2 separate regions of the Homo sapiens genome follow, and region 2 is linked to region 1. Evidence: promoter capture Hi-C in 16 types of primary human blood cells and fetal thymus (Javierre and others, 2016). All regions are on one chromosome and are shown on one strand. Each heading gives the region's core, a stretch centred on a gene start or on the middle of the fragment in contact. The rest is flanking DNA. Distances are from core to core; before and after follow the strand shown.

What was found. The method cuts DNA at HindIII sites, captures the fragments that hold promoters and counts their contacts. A CHiCAGO score of 5 or more calls a contact.
Region 2: a fragment that was not itself captured here is called in contact with the fragment with the promoter of SPAG9 in region 1 in 1 of 17 cell types (fetal thymus); the score reaches 5.1 in fetal thymus.

Annotation. Positions count from the first base shown.
Region 1 is chr17:51,117,975-51,122,540 of GRCh38, forward strand. It overlaps SPAG9 (sperm associated antigen 9), which reads right to left and starts at 2,894. Exons shown (of 30, transcript NM_001130528.3): 1 at 2,380-2,894. The coding sequence starts at 2,682. RefSeq lists silencers at 2,147-2,276, 2,297-2,376, 2,627-3,006 and enhancers at 2,407-2,526, 2,816-3,630, 3,147-3,376, 3,986-4,245. The HindIII fragment of the contact is 3,961 bases long and covers 1,163-4,566 here.
Region 2 is chr17:51,251,754-51,256,304 of GRCh38, forward strand. The region is part of intron 2 of MBTD1 (mbt domain containing 1); the gene reads right to left. Among named protein-coding and RNA genes, the nearest start is that of MBTD1, 6.0 kb to the right of the region's middle. The HindIII fragment of the contact is 1,224 bases long and covers 2,576-3,799 here.

The DNA of each region.
Region 1 (4,566 bases), core at 1,644-4,143:
ATACAAAATATATATACATATTAGCTGGGCGGGGTGGCACGTGCCTATAGTCCCAGCTACTCGGGCGGCTGAGGCAGAAGAATTGCTTGAACCCGGGAGGCAGTGAGCCGAGATCGTGCCACTGCACTCCAGCCTGGCGACAGAGAGAGACTCTGTCTCAAAAAAAAAAAAAAAGAGAAAAGAAAACTGATAACAAGGTGTGTTTATGTTTGTGGCCTGGGAGTGGGCTCATTTAGCATTTCATAAATGTTCTCTGTTCTCAGGTCATGACCCTTTGCCCAATGGTTTCACTATGGAGAATTTACAGATGTAACTGAAAAAATATAAACTACAAATAAATTCATTGGATAACCTATTTTTTTTAGAGTCATTTACTCAAGAAATTAATAGGGAACCCAGAGTCTAGCAGTCGGGCAATTTTGTTTTCTGATTCTGCAACCTGTGGCAGATGGTTTTCTTGGCACGTGTGACCCTGGCATTTTGCCCATATTTACACGGACTGACAGGAGTTTAAGGCTGGAGGGAGCATTTATTTTACGTGAGGTAAAAGGTCATGTCAGGCTTGCTTGTCACCTGTGTGTACATGTGGTTAATTCCCAGTCACTTCCATGTATATCCACACACTGGCAAGGGGCTATATGAGCATGAAGCAGCAAGTAGCACTTGACCTCTGTTCTATAAAGAGTGCTAACAAACAAGCGGAAATTGTGATCCTATCATTATTTGGTTTTTCATCCCTTCCTTCCCTATATGAAAGGAAAAGCTCTTGAAATAGTCCATTCTGGCGGGGTGCGGTGGCTCATGCCTGTAATCCCAGCACTGGGATGGTCAGCCCGAGGCCAAAGTGGGCAGATCACTTGAGGCCAGGAGTTCAAGACCATCCTAGGCACCATGGAGAAATCCTGTCTCTACAAAAAACAAAAATGAGCGGGGAGTGTTGTCCTAGCTCCTTAGGAAGCTGAGGCACAAGAATCGCTTGAACCCGGCAGGCAGAGGTTGCAGTGAGCCAAGATCACTCCACTGCACTTCACCCTGGGCGACAGAGTGAGACTACGTCTCAAAAAAAAAAAAAAAAAAAGGCAATTTTGTTTGGCAAATTCAATAGCATTCCTTTGAGAAAATTGGATCCCACAATCAGAACTAAAAATCATCACTACAGTCAAGCTTTTAAAAAAGGAAAAAGAACTATTTAACCAGATGCAAAGGTATACGTGACAAAATAAAACAAAAATTTAATGGTGTTACTATTCAGTGTCAGGAAATGAGCTACAAACCTCACATCCTAAAAACTCTTCAAGTCTTTTTGAAAAATACTATGTCATTCCTTCAATAATTAGTTATTTCGCCTCCTTTGATCACCATGTATTTAAGCAGGTGTGCTAGGTGCTTGAGAAACAAAAATAGGACACATCACCTGCCTTTGATAAGGTCCACAGAAATAACGCCAACGCAGGCTGAAAGCTAAACTCCTTGTCAGTCTCAAGAAGCCAAGGACCTATCACTTGCACCCTAGAACTCCAAAAGGTTCACAGAGTCGAGGTGAGGGCGCCCAGGTCACTGCTCGGGTGCTAGAGTTAACAGGTGGCCAAATGCACGTATAAACAGCAGTCTAAGAAGGAAACTCAGACGGAAAAAGTGTTGCCAACTGTCACCTACATCTTCCCAACCCCGCCCCCCAATCCTTTTTATAAATAAACGGAGGGTTTTTGAAGGGAACTGTCCAAGGTTACAACCTGATACGGAGGAATGCTTTGGTTTGGGATACCAACGAAATTGTTTATATATTTATTGAGTACTGCCACACAACATCTAAAAGTTGACAAAGTGTCAACCAAGGCACATAGAACATAAAATAAGACGTCTTTCTCAACAAGATTAAAACGTCAAGAAGAAACTGACCGAAAGAGGGAGATCTCTAACTTCCCAAAGCAAGGCAACCCCCTGGAAAGGTACTGGAACTAGCGGAAGTTACATATCCAGGGCAGAAGTGTCCCCCTCCCCAAGGGTAAAACTTTGAACCGCCATCTGACTATCCCACGGTGGTCGGAAACTTCCCTCAACAAGAAGCAACCAGACACCCAACAATCTCCGCCCTTGGCCAACCCCAGGTGTCCTCAGGCCAGGCTGCCGCTTCCTCCCCGGGCCCTGCCTCCTCCATCTCGCTCCCTTCCCAGGACACTCAGTAGCCGGCCTCGGCTTCCAACGCCGGCCTGGCTCCCGGGGTACCTGGAGGCCGCCGGGATCGGTCCCAGGGGGCATCGGCCTCAGGCCCGCCCTCCAGGAGGCCCGTCGCGCCTCTAGTCCCCGACCGGGCCGCGACCCCGCCCCGGCCGCCCCCGGAGACGGATCCCGCGGCCCCCGCCCTGCCGCCGGCCTCACCTCCTCAGCGTGCTTGCGCAGCGCCTTCTCCCGCTCGTACTGGGTGATGAGCTGCTCGTTGTCGTCCCGCAGCAGCTCCAGCTCCACCTGGTGCTCCTGGTCCTGCGCGAACACCGAGTCCAGGTTCTCCAGCACAGCCACCACCAGCGGCATCAGCTCTTTGACCACCTCCTCGTCATAGCGCCCGATAAGCCGCTCGAACTCGCGGTAGATGGAGCCGGCCAGGCCGGACACCCGCTCCGACATCACGGCCCCGGAGCCGCCGGGCTCCTCCTGATACACCACACCGTCCTCCAGCTCCATGGTGGCAAGCGGACGGGCGGGCGGCCCGGGGCGTCGCCGGCAGAGGGGCGGCACCTGCCCGCACGGGACGGACCCGACTCGGGCTGGGACGGGTACTAGGGCTGGAGCCCGGGCCGGGGCTGGGGCTGGGCCCGGCGGGGTGGGGGCCGGGGCCGGAGGAGGGGAGGGGTGGCGTAGGCGCTCTCACCCCAACCGCCGCTGCACCAACTGCCGGGGCGGCCCGGCCGCGCGCGCCACACGTCATCCGCGGGGCGGGGCCGGCGCCGCGTCGGCCCGATGGGCGGGGCGCCGCGGGAGGCCAGGCGCGGCCGGGGGCGGGGCCAAGCGTCTTCGGGCGCTGGCGGAGGAAGCCATGGCGTCAACACCCGGCGCCGCGAAGACGGTGCGGGCGCCAATGGGAAAGACTGCGGTCGGCGGGTGGGGAGAAGTATCCATCCACAGCGGGATTCGCGGGGCGGGTCCCAGGGGAAAGGGAGGGGTTCGGGAAGAGTGACGAGTTAACTTAGCTGGCATTTCTATGGCTTTTTAAAGCTCACAAAGCACCTACTCACTTCATCCCCACAACAGGCGTAAAGAGGTAGATATTTGGACCTCGTTTCACAGACAAAGAAACTAGGCCCAGGAAAGTGGCGTTGCTCTCAAGGTCACGCAGCTACAACGGGAAACGGGCTGAGCCGGGACTCAAACCAATTACCCAGATTGAGAATTCCGGGCTCCGAAAAAAACTGGAAACAGAAAGGGAGGGAAAAAAAACCATAACCAGGGTCTGCCCAAGTGGAAAGGTGGTCTCGAATAGAATAGAACTGTTTTGTGCTATGGAAGAGCAAGGGTGAGATGAGGGGAAATGGGAGTGACTGCTAATAGGTATGGGATTTCGTTTTGGGATAATAAAAATGTTCTAAAAAATGTATTATAGTGATGAATACACAACTCTAAATATGCTAAAAGACATTCAACTTTACACGTTAAGTGAGTGAATCATATGGCGTGTGAATTATATCTCAAGTTATTAAAAAATAAACAGGAAGGGTGATAGCATTCTGGAGAAGGGTGAAACTGGAACGTTACATGTGGCACTTTCCCACATAGTGTGTCTGCTACTTCTGGCCAACTTGGGACGGGGACATTTCCAGGCTCCAGCCACCCTCCTCTCCTCAAGTCTTGAAGTGGGGCGGAAAGGGTAAGTGGGAGGTTGGGGAACAGAGGAGGTAAGGGGTGGAGTCACTGGAGTGAATAAGTCCCATGACAAGTGAGGTTTCTGCCGCCTGGGAGAGTGTCACGTGTGGGGAATGACACAACGCCCACGCCTAGAGCGGGCTGAGTCAAGGATCCCGGTGTGCTCATCTAACGTCCGCAAATGGGACGGAAGACACTCTCAAAAGTCCCTTCTCTGTGTCTCAGGTGACTCAGCTCTCCGTCCCGACTCGTTTAAGAAAAGGGGGAGGAAAGGCAGGATAAACATAGGTTTAAGGGGAGAATTGGCCACCCACCGGGATCATAACTACCCTTAGCTTGGGGTTTACAAGTTTAAGTACTTCCCACCAAGTATGAAGTAGTCCCCTAAAGTTTCCTACGCATGACCCACCTGGAGACCCATAAAAACAATATGAAGGTTGGGCAAGAGTAAACCTATAAATTTGGAAGGACAAAGATGAAAATACTAAGTCTTATGAAGTGCCAGATGGGACTGAATTTGCGGCCTGTGTTTTTTCCCGTTCTCACCCTCACCCCACATTCACCCTTATGTCATTTAGATATTTGGGTAGTAGGAATGCCGACCAGCTGGTTGGCTGTGAGCCGCAAATGCCCTTTCTCTTCTTAACCTTTCATATTTGAAAACTAGAAAAAGTCTTGATCTGAATCTCTCCTCTTTTATTTTCTCTT
Region 2 (4,551 bases), core at 1,938-4,437, 130 kb after region 1:
AGGAGTTTATTTGTAAATTCTACAATAACCTAATATTGGACTTGCTCTGTCATTCAAGCTGCAGTGCAGTGGCATGATCTTGGCTTATTGTAACCTCTGCCTCCCAGGTTCAAGCGATTCTCATGCCTCAGTCTCCCGAGAAGCTGGGATTACAGTGTGTGCCACAACACCTGGGTAATTTTTGTATTTTTGGTAGAGACAGGGTTTCGCCATGTTGGCCAGGCTGATCTCGAACTCCTGGCCTCAAGTGATTGGCCCACTTCGGCCTCCCAAAGTGTTGGGATTACAGGCATGAGCCACTGCACCCAACCATGTTGGACTATTTTTGTTACTGATCTGATTTGGTTATTATTATAATATTTGTAATATGCTTAGTATGTGTCAGGCATATTCAGCACTTAAATCTGTAGCAGCGCATTTAAACCTTATGAGTGTCACTCTCATTTTACAGGAGGAAGCAGTGGCCCAAATAGGCTAAGCAACTTGCCCAAGATCATATAACCACCATGAACACTAATAATATGAATCATGGGACTATCTTAAAACGTTTTAAATTTTAACCTTCTTTCTCCCCCCTCCCCAATACTGGTTCTGTCAGCTAGCCTCTGTAAGCATACAAAACAAGCATCAAATAAATATGTTTCAGGTAACGTGCCTTCATGAACATTTTGCTCTTCAAAATAAAACCGAGGCCAGGTGCAGTGGCTCACACCTGTAATCCTAGCACTTTGGGAGACCAAGGGTGGGTGGATTACTTGAGGAGTAATCCACCAGGAGTTCCAGACCAGCCTGGCCAATATGGTAAAACCCCATCTCTACTAAAAATACAAAAATCAGCCATGTGTGGTGGTGGCACCTGTAGTCCAGCTACCAGGGAGGCTGAGGCAGAAGAATCACTTGAACCCGGGAGGCGAAGGTTGCAGAGAGCCAAGATTGAGCTACTGCACTCCAGTCTGGGCGACAGAGTGAGACTCTGTCTCAAAAAAAAACAAAACAACAAAACAAAACCCCAAAAAACTGCAAATCATATTAGATGACTAAGGTCTTGAATGTAGGGAGATGGAATGATTGTAGGTAGGTAAACCTTGCTTTATATTTGGGTGTATGTTCTAACTCCCTGTCCACTATAAAGTCACTAATGTCTAAAATTCATATACTAAATAAATAATATAAGCCTAAGCTTTAGAATTAGAGAGATAGATACTAGATGAGAAAGCTAAAAGAATGAAAGCAGTTGTCTCATCAGAGCTGAATTGGGACAAGGACCATTTTTTTTGGAATACTTTTAGCATTGTTTAATTATTGTACTATCAAGTGCATGTATTACTTTGATAAAAATAAAAGCTAATTTATATGAAGTATACAGTACATTAAAAAATTAAGTTGGTATATATTGAGAGATTGATGATATCTGGTATCAGTAAATACATGTGGGAAAAACAGTGCTCATATACACTTGGTAGGAAGGTAACCTTACACTATCTTTCCGGAAGGCAATTTGACATTACATATGAAAACTTAAAATGGCTATGCCTTTTGACTAGGTAATTCCATTTTTAGGAATCTGTCCTTCAGAAATACTCATACATAATACATACAAGGACACAAGAACCTATGTAGAAGGATGTTTGCTAATGTAATAATAATGAAAAACTGGAGACAAACTTACAATCAGCAGGGGAATCATGAGCAACAGGTAAAATACTGAGTGGAAAAAATAAATCACAATATATAGTATAATAAAATATATCACAATATGACTCACTTTTTATTCAAAGAGACAATATACACTGGCATATACACAGATCAATATATGTATGTTTGTTTTTATGTGCACTAAGAAAGACCTTAGGAGTAGCTAAACTTTTAGCAGGGTAGAAGTGGCATGGGAAGATGAATCTAACTTTTCAATATTTTTCTTTTTTAAAACATTATAGGTGTACTTCTATAATAAAAAATAAAAGGTTTTTATAGTGACAAAATTAAAGAAGAGATCACAAATCACAACAGAACTTCATTGTCCTACTGTAACTGTCACTTAGGTAAACCATCCTCCCTATGAAATCTACAAGGGAATTAAAAAGCATAGTCATTAACTTATTGGTATAACCAAACAAAAGTTCCAACAAAACTAAACATCTCTGGGAGAAATGACAGAAAACACTTGAAATCTTAAATGCAGGTGTCAATAAACATGGAGCCAAGTAATATTAATAATAGTGTAATTTCAATATGAGTAAACTCACCAGATATGAATAAACTCATCAGAAGTCAACCAATTCTTCATTATCCAAACCCACTGGGAGCAGTGGCTCACATAATTTTCAAATTTTTATATTTAGCTATGGAGCAAATATTTTCTAGAATCTTAAATTTGAATGTTGTATGCATGAGATCACAAAGTAGTAAACAGAGATTAATACATACTCTACAATGACTGAACTTGGTAGGAGCTCAAGAGCTATTTAGCTCCTGCAGGCCTCTTTTTCATTCTATTATACTATGAGGATGAAAGCACATTCTGGTATAGTGATAAAACTCATCAGTGTAAAGAGAAATGCCTTCTTTCTTTCTAAGCTTACTGTTACGAGGAACATAAATGGTAAGGATTTGGGATTACTGAGTTTTTATTTCCCACAAATTCAATGTGCAAGCAAGAATAAATTCATGTCAATGATACAATCAAGAGGAAACCAAAAGCAATAATATTCTGAATAACCCATCTAAAGAAATGGAAAAGTACCCAGGAGAATGATAGGAGAGGACAATATTCTACATAGCAATATTTTAAGATTTAAAGCAACAGTGAACAAAAGGAAGTGATTCTTTGATCTACAAGAAATACAAATTTCTACCTCTTTGGGTTCAACTTCTAGACCTATCACTGTTATGACTTCGGATGTAACAATTACTTGGGTCTCAGTTTCCCTCTCTTCTAAATAAGAAAAACATCACTTACCACACAGGAAGGATGTATGATAAAATAAAAAAATTCACATGAATAGGCTTTCAGTTCTTCCGAAGAAAGCTATGAATCCTTAAGTACAAACCTGGAAAGCTAATTAAAAATAAGATGACCATATCAAAATTAAGTCTGAAACATGCAGTGGCCTAGAGATTCCCTGAGATCATTATCAGCTATCAATTCTACCCCAATAATAGAATTCATACTCAAGCTGGGTCTGTAGGGCGAATGTGGTCTGAATGATCAAACAAGATCATTTATTAGTATGTTAACATAGAGACGGGCCAGGCGCAGTGGCTCACGCCTGTAATCCCAGCACTTTGGGAGGCTGAGGCGGGCAGATCACAAGGTCAGGAGTTTGACACCAGCCTGGCCAATATGATGAAACCCCACCTCTACTAAAAATACAAAAATGAACTGGGTGTGGTGGCATTTGCCTGTAGTCCCAGCCACTCGGGAGGCTGAGGCAGAAGAATCACTTGAACCCGGGAGGCGGAGACTGCAGTGAGCCGAGCTCATGCCACTGCACTCCAGCCTGGGCAACAGAGCAAGACTCCATCTCAAAAAAAAAAAGAAAAGAGAAAGTAAATTCAACAGCTTATTCAGTATCATATTGATCTGATATAACCTAAAAACACTTGATCTGAAATGATAACATTCTCTTGGTGTTTACCTTTAAAAAATATATTTGGAACTGGTTGCTCAGAAGATATAAAATCACTGAACAATAGTAACTACAGGGTGTTAATAATTAAACAAAGATGGGTTAAACACATACAGATACACAAGGGGGCTACTTCTCTGGTGTATAAAATAATCTCTAGCAAATTTTAAAGCTTAGAAGTCTTAAAGTAATAGATGATGATAACCTTTTTTTTTTCCTTTTTTTTTTTTTGAGACGGAGTCTCACTCTGTCGCCCAGGCTGGAGTCCAGTGGCACAATCATGGCTCACTTCAACCTGGGTCTCCCACCAGACTCAAGCAATCCTCCCACCTCTGCCCCCGAGTAGCTGGGACTACAGGGGTGTGCCACCACACCTAATTTTTGTAATTTTTTTTTGTAGAGACAGGGTTTCGCCATGTTGCCCAGGCTGATCTTGAACTCCTGGGTTCAAGCAATCTGCCTGTCCTGGGCTCTCAAAGTATTGGGATTACAGGCGTTAGCCAACACACCTGGTTAATATTAACCAATATTTATTGAACGATATATACAAATCACTATGCTTAGCACCAGAAATACAAAGAAGTATTAGACTTAACATTCCTGTCCTACAATTAAGACTGCAAACGGTGGCCAAATAATTGGGCCACAACGTTGAACAAACTAATGAGTATTATATACAACCAGTTTTAAAAGACTAGTAGTAGGAATTAAACATAGTGAAAAAGGAAAAAGAAGGAAAGCCTGGGAACACATCTTAACATTTTATCTTATGACTTGTCTCATCTTTTATAGCAGCTTACTTTTTTTAAACAGCGGGCATAACATCTGAGTGGAGGTTTACAGAAACTACAGGAGGCAGGGCTGATGTTCACCCTGTATTTCAGATGAGGAAAGTGAAGCTTTCAAAGAGGTTACACAACTC